3 separate regions of the Homo sapiens genome follow, and all the other regions are linked to region 1. The links are contacts of gene promoters, found by promoter capture Hi-C in blood cells and fetal thymus (Javierre and others, 2016). All regions are on one chromosome and are shown on one strand. The core of a region is centred on a gene start or on the middle of the fragment in contact, and the rest is flanking DNA. Distances in the headings are between cores, read along the strand shown. Region 1 holds the start of NPL (N-acetylneuraminate pyruvate lyase). Region 2 overlaps EDEM3 (ER degradation enhancing alpha-mannosidase like protein 3). Region 3 overlaps IER5 (immediate early response 5).

The links. Contacts are between HindIII fragments. The CHiCAGO score rates a contact against its expected background, and 5 or more counts as called.
Region 2: a fragment that was not itself captured here is called in contact with the fragment with the promoter of NPL in region 1 in 1 of 17 cell types (monocytes); the score reaches 5.5 in monocytes.
Region 3: a fragment that was not itself captured here is called in contact with the fragment with the promoter of NPL in region 1 in 1 of 17 cell types (M2 macrophages); the score reaches 6.9 in M2 macrophages.

Annotation. Positions count from the first base shown.
Region 1 is chr1:182,787,363-182,791,554 of GRCh38, forward strand. NPL (N-acetylneuraminate pyruvate lyase) reads left to right here and starts at 2,411. Exons shown (of 13, transcript NM_030769.3): 1 at 2,411-2,443. RefSeq lists an enhancer at 2,064-2,564. The HindIII fragment of the contact is 6,627 bases long and covers 1,268-4,192 here.
Region 2 is chr1:184,745,286-184,749,477 of GRCh38, forward strand. The region is part of intron 2 of EDEM3 (ER degradation enhancing alpha-mannosidase like protein 3); the gene reads right to left. Among named protein-coding and RNA genes, the nearest start is that of EDEM3, 7.5 kb to the right of the region's middle. The HindIII fragment of the contact is 3,747 bases long and covers 501-4,192 here.
Region 3 is chr1:181,091,843-181,096,034 of GRCh38, forward strand. It overlaps IER5 (immediate early response 5), which reads left to right. Exons shown (of 1, transcript NM_016545.5): 1 at 1-1,058. Among named protein-coding and RNA genes, the nearest start is that of IER5, 5.2 kb to the left of the region's middle. The HindIII fragment of the contact is 1,205 bases long and covers 1,120-2,324 here.

The DNA.
Region 1 (4,192 bases), core at 1,161-3,660:
TGGGGGACCACCCCTCACCCACAGTCAGTTCAGGAGCCTGTGATGGGGGCATCACCTCCAGCTCCAAGGATAGAACATATGACTGTTCTGACCAAGTTCATTGCACCATATCTCCCAAGCTCTTTCCCCTGCACCAGTGGGTTTCAAATTTGAATTGTAGCAAACAAAATCTGATACAAAACCCTGACATACATTTGTTTTAAACAAAGAAGAGTTGATGGTAGTAATATTTCTAAATCTCACCCTCTTGGCCTGCACTTGGATAGACACTATGTCCTGCACTGTGGGAAAAACAAAGGAATAGGACATGATGCCTGCCTTGAACACCTTGCAGTGGAGTTGGGGGCAAGAAACAAAAGCAAGAAAATTAATGATTAAATAATACTACATAATAATAGAAGAAATCTCACAGAGACTGCCGCTTATCAGAAGGGGGTTAGAGGCCTGCAGTTCAGCACTGAGCCTTTTGTTGCCTCTCTTCTTCTAAGCCCTACTCATTGTCTGATATTTAGCTTGGCTGTGACCTTCCCCAGTAAGACGTTTCTGGAACACCCTCCTGCCTCTTCACACACACACACACACACACACACACACACACCACCCCCTTCAGCCCAGATTAGAGCTCAGTGTTCCTGTAATATCTCTGTACAGTCTATCACTGCATTTACCATATTTTAAAACAACGTCTCCCCAACACTTCACAGTATAGGCTCTGAGTTTCATAACGGCACAGAGTGGATACTGTAAGAATGCAGTGAGACTCTCCCTACTCCATGCTCCTTTCTTCCATCTTTTGTTCCACAGATGTCAGCCCTACATCAGTCTGCAGGCTGCTCCTGTCTGCTCCAAATCCCTCCCCCAGTAAGTTTCTTGCACATCTAATCCCATCTTAGCATCTGCTTCTTGGTAGACACTAACAAATTATTATAAGGAATTACTTTGCACTACCATATTTATACAAAAAGTAGTTAGTTCATGCATTTAGAATATTGGTTTGTTGGTTGACAATGTTAAGCCTAATGACCTATACCTTTTGGGTACTGACATACTTAATTTTGCACTTATTAAACTGTGACTTTCCAAAAAAAAAAAAAACTTTCATTGTACCATTAGGATATAATATTCTTGTTAATATTACAAAAACCAAACCAAAACAAAAACCATGCTGCAGCCTTAGGAGAACTTGCTTCATGTAACTAAGGGTTTTTCTTTTTCTTTTCTTTTTGTATTTTTTTTTCCTGTAGGATAACATAGTGTTAAAAGCACAAGCTTCTGGACTACTTGAAATCAAACCACAGCTTAACCAGCTCTATGGCTTTTGGCAAATTACTTCAACTCTTTAAACCTGTTTCTGATCTGTAAAATGGAATGATCCTTGCTCATCTGTAATATATACATTTATAAAACAGGACCCACCAATGGGATTATTTTATGAATTAAATGTTAAAACAGCTAGAACGGTGCAGGCTGAGTAAGCACTGAACACAGTACTTATTAGCTATTATCTCTGGTGCTCTGTGCAACGAAAGAACTATTAGAATACATTTAAAAGCACTTTGCAAACTAGAAAGCCCTTTGAACAATTTAGTTTCTCTAAATGTAATAATAAGCATCAGCCATCGCCTTTTATGGAAAATTGAGGTGGAATCACATCAGCAAGAGAAAACTGAGGACTTGTCTCTGGCTCTGTTCCTGATTTATTCACACAGTACATGATCCTAGAATAAGACTCCTGATACTCCTGAAAGTAGAGGCGGTTGGGTTAAAAATAATTTTCCCTTTCAAAACTCTTTCAAATGTTCTCCAAAAGAAGCCAGGAAAGCTCCCGTATGAGTAGATAATTCACTTTAAAATTCGCTCATCTCTCTTTAACACGAGAGTCTGCAGGGCTGGTGCAGCGGCGTCAACCCGAAGAGACCTGAACGCCGATGGGCAGTTGGGATTCTCCGTACGCCTCGGAAACAGCAGCCCAAACCTCACAACGCAGAACCACGAGATAGTGGGGATTGCAGAGCCCTGCGCAAGAGAAGGAAAATTAAGACGCAGCGGAGCCCAGGAGGTGCCCGCACGCGGGAAGGACTGGCGTGCAGACGAGGCAGGGGGAGGTTTGCACTCGGCGTGGCGCGGGTGAGCCGCGTGCTCTCGGGCACCCGGCCGCCAGTTCGGATGCTTCCGATCCTCGGGGAGCCGGGGCGCTGCGCCGGAGTCACTTCAGCCCATGTTGTTCAGGTGACACCCGGGGAAGAGCAGACTCCAGTGTGCAAAACGTTTCGGGGTTTCCGGGCCAGCGGTTCCGGGCGCGCCTCGCGGGCGGCGGCGCAGAACTACAACCCCCAGGCTCCCTGGCGTGGCGGCACGTGGGCCCGAGCCGGGCGGCCGCGGATATAAAGCGCGGCGGCGGCTGCCGGGCGGAGCGGCTGCACGGACAAGAGCGGAGGCCTGGGTGAGCGCGGCCCGCGACGGCACGGGCTAGGACAGACGGACGCAGACGGCCCGACGACCTGGGCGTTCGGGCGGAGGGGCGCTGGGGCCTGACTCGCGGGTGGGTGAGACGTTGACGGACCCGGAGGAAAGAGGGAAGGCAGATACGCTGGGAAACGGATCTGGGGAAGGTGTGAATGCGAAAAGTGTAGGGACAGACGGGGGCAGAAGAACTTACTCCCCCGGATTGTTTGCAGACAGCATATCTGCCGGGTCTCCAAAGGTCCTTTCCTCAAAATAGAGTTAGCAATTGAGCAGAAGAGAGCTTAAAGTTAAACCTGATACATCCCCCCTTCACTTGAGGAGAAATTGGTGGTTTTCTGCTTTTTTAAAAATCCCTATTTGTATCTCCTCTTCTCCGAGTACCTGTCCCTCAAGATATTCTCTGCCCAGAGGTACATTCTGCCCTCACTTTCTGTCTCTTAAAAAAACAACTTTGCCATTTAAAAAAGAATTTGACTTAGGCAGCTTTAATTCTTTGCACTGAGTGTTCTTATCTGTGGATGGAGGTATAAGATTTCAAGAGTAATACCCCCTCCCAATGTTTCAGTAATAATCTAAATTCACATTAAGCCTTAGGCTGGAGAACATTTGAGCTATTCGCTTTAGCTACGAGCTCTGAAAACTTCAAAGCATAACATTCCCAAGTTTATCTAAAACTTGAATCTTAAAAATAATGATAATTATCTGTTATGCTTCAAAGCATAACATTCCCAAGTTTATTAAAAACTTGAATCTTAAAAATACTGATCATTCTCTGTTAAAGTCTTTTGTTGTTGTTGTTGTTGTTGTTGTTGTTGTTGTTGTTGTTGTTTTTGAGACGGAGTCTCGCTCTTGTCGCCCAGGCCGGACTGCAGTGGCGCTATCTCGGCTCACTGCAAGCTCCACCTCCCAGGTTCACGCCATTCTCCTGCCTCAGCCTCCCGAGTAGCTGGGACTACAGGCTCCCGCCACCACGCCCGGCTAATTTTGTATTTTTAGTAGAGACGGGGTTTGGCCATGTTGGCCAGGCTGGTCTCGAACTCCTGACCTCAGGTGATCCGCCCACCTCGGCCTCCCAAAGTGCTGGGATTACAGGCTTGAGCCACCGCGCCCGGCCAAAGTCGTTTTTATCCCATTTCTTCCTGTAGGCGTTTCAAAGTTTGCAAAGGCAGCAAACTTTTACGTAGTGTAGTTATCTGTGCAAAGAAATTTTCCAAGCTGCCATTGCCCCCAGATGGCAGACAGTCTAGGAGAGGAGCCAAAACCACCCTGCTTAATAACTCTGATGTAAGGTTTTTAATGAAAAGCCACTGTTTGGGGGAATTCTGAGGTTTAAGAAATTATTTTCGGCTGGGGTATCAGGAAATCCCCTGGTTTTTAAAATGAGAGGTTTTTTGGTTTTTGTTTGTTTTTGTTTTTAAGCTATACCTGCTGGAATGGATAAAGTGAGCTTTAAAAGTTGATCAGACCGAAGAGATTGAAGTGAGAGAACCACAGGAACAAAGGCAAGCAGACAGACAGTGAAAGGTAGATAGGAGGAACAGCAAACAGTTTGTTCAGCTGGGCAAGTATAGTGCAGGCACGAAGATTTCAATAGAGACCCAGACCCCAGGGAGCTGGTTCTTTAGCCTACTGGCATTTTCTAAACAGGACAAAGACAAGACCAGAAATGCTGGTGTTACTGGAAGATTAATCTGACAGCTGGTGTGGATTGAAGAAGAGAAGAGGG
Region 2 (4,192 bases), core at 1,124-3,623, 2.0 Mb after region 1:
CAATGACTCATAGATGATAGTCCCACAACAGTCTACACAAAAAAAGGTAAATATAAATTTATATCTCCCTTACTCCCATTAGTACCATGCCTAAAATACTTTGTTTACAGAATTACTGTTTCTGATGAATGAACCATTAAAGAGAAACACCGAGTACAGAGTTTCAGATTGGGAAGATGAAAAAATTTCTAGAGATGAATGCACAACAATATGAATGTACTTAATGCCACAAAACTGTAAACTTAAATGGTTAAAATGGTAAATTTCATATTATGTATATTTTACAACAATAAAAATTTTTTTTAAACATTGGGGGGTAGGGGAGAGGCACTCCAAAAAAATGTACATAAATCTAGAAATGCACAGGAAGTTCATTTTGAAAGAGTTCCTTTGGTTTGATTAATAAAGACTATTCTACTGTTGCTTTCACAAAATCAAGCTTAATAGTGGTTATTAGGTACGATTCTACTAAAGGAAATTGTGCTTACCAACTCTATCCAAGCTTATTTTTAATGTTTAGGGCTCTTACCAGAATATAGTTTTTGCTTGTAACAGTTTGAGTTGTCTAACACAGACAGGAAAAACACTGGGAGCTCCAAAAAGGTTCTACATTTGGATGGCCCAAATACATGTCATTTTGTCATCTAAATTAATCTGCAAACTAAACTGAACACAAATACTCAAAACATGCTAACAGAAGCCCTAAAGTGACTGTGGCCTGGGGTTAAATAAGGTCACACAAGAACTGCTAAGATAAACATCAAATTCATGTCATTTGGTAAACGAGAAAGCCATCTGTGCAATTCACTGTGGGTAAACTGCAGACTGACTGGGGCTAGACATTTGTCAAACATAGTCGTTATTAATAGTCATGCCAATAAGTGTTAAAAACCCAAAAATCCCTAGATTTAAGTCCAGAGATGGCAGAGTTGTAGTAATCTACCTAAAGCTGGCAGGACATTTCTATTAAGAAATAGCATTAATAGAACCTTCTATTACATTAATAGAAAGTAAGTTCAAAGGGCACATGCCAAGAACAGGAAAGAATGTATGCGCTTTAAGCAAGTTCTATGTACTATCTGGAGAACAAGTTCTGAGTTACAGGCTAAGTGGATTTTAGGAGGGCAATTTCAATTTAGGCAGGAAATAAATAATAATGATAGTAGTAGTCGTTATCAGTAGCAGCAGTAAATTCTTACATCATGCTTCCTATTTGCCAGATATTAGTTCTAAGCACTTTCATTATATTAACTTGCTTAATCCTTCTAACAACATTGTGAGGCTGGCAAACCATTGTCTTCATTTTGCAGAGATGAAGAAACAGGCTCAGGAAGACTAGGTAACTTTCCCATTGTAACCCAGATGAGAGGTGGCAGAGCCATCTCAGGGTGTCCTGCTCCAAGTCCAGAGTTCTTGCTCTTAATAATACTATATTGCTTGTCTTTGGAAAACACCACTGCTTTCCTGGGAAGCAAGAAGGTTAAAGGAATTGTTCTACTGTAGACCAGACTGGAGAGTAGTATTAGAAAGAACTAGTGAGAAATGAGGAAAAACTTTCAACATTTATTAAAAGCCTGCCATGTACCAGGCATTTTATATTTTAGGATAGTAGGCAACTGACTACAAAAAAGTAAATGACTTACAGGCCCTGAAATTCACCTTAAACTTGTATTTTTAATTAAGTTTATTATTTCTTTGCATTTAAACACAAAGATATATCACAATGATCAAATGCAAAAAAAAAAAAACATTATTTTACTTCATCTTCACAAGAATTCAATTCAGTTCTTTCAAAAAAATTTGCTAAGCATTTATGTACCAGGCACAAGACATATAAAAAAGGTGAATGTATTAAAAATTAAAGAAATTGGTTCCTGTTCTTTAAAAAAAAATCTATAGTCTACAATAACTCTTTGCAATTATTCTCATTTTACATAGAAAGACACTGCTCAGATGGGTTAAATAACCTGTTTAGGGTCCAACCTGTAAATAGCTGAGACAGGATTTGAACTCAAGCCCTTCTAACTCCAAAACCTATACACTTTTACCCTACAGAAAGCTAAAAGTGTTTCTGAGTGTAGGGACCGGAAAAAAATTTCCAACTGACTTCAAATAACAAATACAAGGCAACTGTATTCTCGTTAATATTTTAGAACTGTGTCATGTTAGTTGAGAACTTGAAAAGAGGAAGTGTAAATTCTAGACTAAATCTTGGGTTACAGACCTCACACAGATTGAATATAGAAGAAGTACACAGCAAGAGTCACTCACATTGTAAAATAGTTGAACATTTTAAAATACATATTACAGTGGACACGTATGGTCCCACTGGAAATATATAAGACAATGTTACTTTCAAGAGTTCCCAGTCTTTGAAGCTGAAATCCTTCTCTCTTAAATCTTATTAAGTAGTTAATTGTAGCAGAAAGTTACTCAGTTAGGTCCCAATAGGCACAGGCCAGAAAGTCCTCTGAAAGCTGCCCTCAGTACCTGCACTGTCACAAACCTACTAAGTGTATTCTATAGTTAGAAAAAATGTATTGATATAACTTTCTGCCATTGATATAACTGTTCTACCTAAAAAGAACAAGATATTAAAGATACCATGCTTTATAAAGAGATGATCCTATTCATTGTGAGAAACTGAACTTATCCAGCTATATGCTATTTTATTTAACTTTGGAACTGCATTCATCAGTACGCATTTATGAGATGGCTAAGGTCTGAGGGTATAGGATGGAACCACTTGGCCATCTCAAAATCATTAGCCTAGATTTGTTAAATTATGCTTTGCCCAAACTGAATTAACCAGGGATAAATGATTTTGAAAGAAATAAGGGTTGACATGTGGGTGACAAAAAAAAATTAATTAAAAAACAGAACGGGTGTAATGGCTCACACCTGTAATCCCAACACTTTGGGAGGCAGAGGTGGGCAGATCACTTGAAGTCAGAAGTTCGAGACCAGCCTGGCCAACATGGTGAAACCCCATCTCTACCAAAAATACAAAAATTAGCCAGGCATGGTGGCACACACCTGTAATCCCAGCTACTCAGGAGGCTGAGGCAGGAGAATCACTTGAACCTGGGAGGTGGTGGCTGCAGTGAGCTGAGATAGTGCCGCTATACTCCACAGCCTGGGCGACAGAGCACAACTCCGTCTCAAAAAAAAAAACAAAAAACAAAAAACAAAAAAAACATTAAGGGAATGACTGAGGTCTTGAGAAATAAATTTGAAACTGTGTTTTTAATGTTGAAATGTATCCAAAAAAAATCATATCCTAAAAACATTAAGAACTCAAAATGTGCTCTCTCCAAATTTACAATATAAAAGAGAACGAGGACTGTCAAATATAAAACATGTTTTAAAACTAAAAATGCATAAATTACATATATTTAGATGTTCATAGATAACAATGATGTTAGTGTATGAAGATATTTGGTTAATATATGATAAAAAATGGATTCACAGAATCAGTTGAAAAATATTTTAAGCAGAACTAAAGCTAGTCCTCTGCCAAACTTTCCCAACTACATTTTATACGTTGTAATCATAGAAGAAAATCTGCTGACATATTTTAAAATGTAAAAACAAGGTTATAAGGGATAAGTTTCAGGATAATATGCTTAAACTCTTTTCAAATTACAATTTATGTGCAAAATTTTTTTTGAATTCCAGAATTTGCTATTTCATCTACGTTGTTGCACAACAGATCTCCAGAACTTTTCATCTTGTAAAACTGAAACTGCTATTTAATCTTAAGTGAGCCCTAAAACATTTTTAAATAATATGAATCAGCAAACTAAAAAGCAAAATATATTCAGTGCAGAGTCCATGAGGATACAATTAGGACAGAGGCTAAGTAACAATTTCTCTTTTAAGCAATGGTTTTCTTCAGTGTATAAATATTGTAAACATTTTTTTAAATTAAGAGAATAATCTCCCTTAAGACCAGAGATAACATCTTCATGTATATATCCACAATATCTAGCTATATAAAGCACTCAATGATAATTGTTGATGGCACCCAAGGAAGCTGTTTAAATAATGAAGTTTCATAATCTAATTTCAATTTATTCTTATCTGTTCAATAAACTGGTTCCCTAAAAACCACTACCAGAAAGACTATTTTTGCCCTGTTTTTTAAAAACTTCCTTTTAAAAAATGTAATTGTATTGTAGGTTTCAAAATT
Region 3 (4,192 bases), core at 472-2,971, 1.7 Mb before region 1:
ATGGTGTCTTGGCCTTAACTCCCAATTATACGAACTTCTGTTTTAGCTGAATAGGCCAGTGCCTCGTGCCTTGATATTTCGGCAAATCTATTAGTGGTTCCTTAAGCATAGGGAACTTTGTACTTTATGCTCTGTCGCCATAATAATGTATTTATAGAATTAAACATTCTCAAATTAGGGTCTTGTTAAACTGACTTTTTCTTTCAGAAAGTAGCTACTTAAATTCTGTTACAGCTACAAAAGATCCATCAAGTGCTGACTGCTTAAACTGAAGAAGGTGTCCAGGGCCTTAATTCTGCAAACATTTCCTGTTGTTAGAAAGTATGATGCTTGAACAGCGATCTCAGTGTATTTTATGTTTTAAAGGGGGTAACGTTTGGTGTGTTTAAGAGAGCTGATGTGTTTTGGATGAGACTAAAGTTGATCCTTGGTTTTACATTAAGATGAACCTGGGTCCATGTGTCTGCTTAAAGAATGTAAATTGGCATACTTGATAGGAGGATAAAGCTTTGTAGGAATTAGAAAAGATCATTCTCTTTTTTGTTGCAGAAGCAGTATAGTATAGTAGTTAGAGCATGGGCCCTGGAGCCAGGCTGCTTGGTGTCTTCCTTTATTTATTTATTTATTTAATTATAAAAAGTAAATATAAAGTGAGCTATGTTGACCAGGTTCGTCTTGAACTCCTGGCCTCAAGCAATCCTCCTGCCTCAGCCTCCCAAAGTGCTGGGATTACAGGCATGAGCCACCACAACCTGGCCTGCTTGGGTTTTTCTATCTTGGCTCTGCCACCTAGCTGTGGGTCCTTGGACAAGTTACTTCATCTCTCTGTGCCTCAGGTTTTTCAAATGTAAAATTGGGATAATTGGATCTGTCTCATAGGGTTGTGAAAATTAATGAGTTAATGCTCTTAGAAGAGTACCTCATATGTAATAAGCACGCAACTGTTAATTATTGTTAATGTAGAAGTTAATTCTGTGTATAAATCAGATACACTGTGGTCAAAGATTTGTGTGTATTTGTAAGAAAAGAGGAGAATGGAGAATCTATTTTTAAGTGGTCCTATGTGTGAATGCTGGGTTCTTTTATTCCTCTTTTTCTCTGGACACTTGGCAGTCAGGAAGCTTTGTTCTACCAACATAGTTTTGTTGCTGTGAATGTCTCACACCAACCGGATGATTTTTCCAATTGTATCAAACAACTCTATTTTCAGGGAGGAGTAAGCTGAAGTGAAAACAGGCAAGGAGCAAAGTTCTTGTTGACATACAAATGCTTTCTGTGGATGAGTAAAGAAAAAAGTAGCCCATAAAGTTATTTTTGCTTGAATTATTGCGCATGGAATGTTTAAAACATGCTTATTGATAGGTTCTGGACAAGAGCCTTCCCAATGCCAACCTAGGGCTATCACACAACCAAATCAGATGCAGTGTGACTAGAAACGATGCCATGGTTTTAGTACCTAACCACTTCTTCACCACTCTGGGAGGGACCTAGTCTCTTGATCAAATTAACCTTAGCTCTGGGGTGTAAAAAAACCTTCTGACTGCTGCGTAAAAGCCAGATGTTTAAAGTGCTTTCCAACAAGTACTCCAAGAAGATCACATTAATAGGGAATAAAGTCTGGGCGCGGTGGCTCACACCTGTAATCCCAGCACTTTGGGAGGCCGAGGCAGGTGGATCACCTGAGGTCAGGAGTTCAAGACCAGCCTGGCCAACATGGTGAAACCCTGTCTCTACTAAAAATATAAAAATTAGCCAGGTGTGGTGGTGGGAAAAAAGAGAATAAAGGGATAAATGTTAGTAATGTATTTTTTTTTTTGAGACAGAGTCTTGCTCTGTCACCCAGGCTAGAGTGCAGTGGTGTGATCTCAGCTCACTGTAACCTCTGCCTCCCTAGTTCAAGCGATTGTCCTGCTTCAGCCTCCCAAAGTGCTGGGATTACAGGCATGCACCACCACGTCTGGCTAACTTTTGTATTTTTAGTAGAGACGGGGTTTCACCATGTTGACCAGGCTGGTCTCAAACTCCTGACCTCCGGTGATCCACCTGCCTTGGCCTCCCAAAGTGCTGGGATTACAGGCGTGAGCCACTGCCCCCGGCCTAGTATGTACTTCTCAACCATGTTGTTTTAACCCTGTCTTCCCTTTTAGAAACCATCATTTGTTCTTGGCGATGGGAACTAATGATGGAAAGCCTGAATTGCTCCTCCAAGGTGACTGGGTTTTCTTTATGGCACCAAATAACCTTTCCATTCCTTCTACTCATCACTGATTGGATTTGGGAGTGTGAAGTGAGAGGAAATGGGTCATTTGACAACTTTGGTGGAAAGCTTCTCAGAATAAAGATGTCAGAAATATTGGGAATGAAATTAATAATTATAAAACTGTTCCATCTTATCACTGGGTTAGTCTGAGTCTCTCTTACTGCAACTTACTAGGCATGATAACCTAGCCTCAGATCCTGTGTGATGGGGTCGACAGGCTAATCCCACTGTGATATGGCATTTGATGGACATTTATTTCCTTGTACTTTTTTAAAAAAAAGTAGAGTTAGTTCAGTTCACTGAATAACCAAAGGATTTCTGATCTCTTGCCCTAAATATTTTATTCTTCTCCTGTTTGTGAATTTTTTATTCTTCTAGACTTCCTTTTATCCCAGCAGTCCCTGAAAAAAGACAGGAATGAAAAGAAACGCTGATCCAACCTTTCCGTGACTATGAAAGAGGCCATTACTATGAGGTGCAGTGCTCCGGTGGGGAGGGAGGCCTGCTTCCCAGGATTCCTGGCACTCTTTCCAGTAATGAGCAGTTTGTCTCTCAGCCTTTGAACCATTGTTCAAATTTAAAATTCAACCCAGTGGAAAGCCTTGGGAGGAAAAAACATAGAAGGAGAGTTGATGTTAGGAATCACTGTGATCTTAACACATGCCCTTGGAGTTTTTCAGTAATAATTCTTAAGGGTACGATAGGGAACAAATGTGGAAGAGCAGAAAGTGTGAAAGGATACGCACATCTAGCTGAATGCCTCCTTCCTGATTCAAACACAGTTTTTCCCAATGCCTGCTACCACTGCTCCCTCCCGCAGTGGGAATGGGGGTTTTAAAATAAAATCTCTCTCTAGCAATTGCTGTCTCCCAGAGGAATACAGCCCAAAGCTCTTTGCTGGACTACAGCCTGGGGTTTATCTCAGACCTCTGGAATCCTTCAGGCAGGGAAGGAGAAACCTCCAGGGACTGCATTCCTGAAAGGGCCTCTCCTCTTTCCTCTCCAGACCAGCAGCAGCCTCTATCACCGGATGCTGCCCACTTATGGGCAGGTGAAATAGAGTATTGGCTATCAGCTTTTGGAAGCTGCAGGAAGAAGGGCTGGTACCCAGCACTGCTACTGAGCATCTCTAGCAGGTGATTCTTTTAGGGGACTGGCATAGAGCTGGCCTGGTGTATTATATTAGTCCGTTTTCACACCACTATAAAGAAATACCCAAGACTGGGTAACTGACAAAAGAGATTTAATTGGCTCACAGTTCGCATGTCTGGGGAAGCCTCAGGAAACTTACAATCATGGTGGAAGGGGAAGCGGGCACGTCTTACATGGCAGCAGGTGAGGGCACGTGTAAGCGCGGGAAAAACTACCATTTATAAAACTATCATGGGAACAGCATGGGGGAACCACCCCATAATCCAATTACTTCTCTCCCCTGACACTGGGGATTACAACTTGAGATTTGGGTGGGGACATAGAGGCAAACCGTTATCATCTGGGATATTTGCAGTAAATCTACTTTTTATGTAATAAAGTTTTCTGGGACCTGGTCACAAGAAGCCTCTAGGCCTGTGTGGTAAGCCATATCCCTAACTTACAGGATGGTGAGACAGCTGCCCCTTTTCCATCCATTTAGCACCAAGGCAGTCCTGGTCCCAGCCCTCTGCTTTTTCCCTATGAATGGGGCCTCTGCAAGGTTGCCCCAGCCCAATCGTTCTATCAGATGCCAAGACAAGGCTCCTTTCAGTTTTTCTAGAATTCAGGGATGTGCGGAAAGCCATGTGTTCCCACCTGCTTGTTCTTCAACCCATTCCACCTCTCAAGTCGGGGCAGAGCAGCTGTTGGAAACTTGCATGCTGTGAGGTAAAAGAAAAACCATTTTGTTCCCTCTGTGCAAACACTGATGTTGTCTCTGAAGTGTAGGATTTCCTTTGG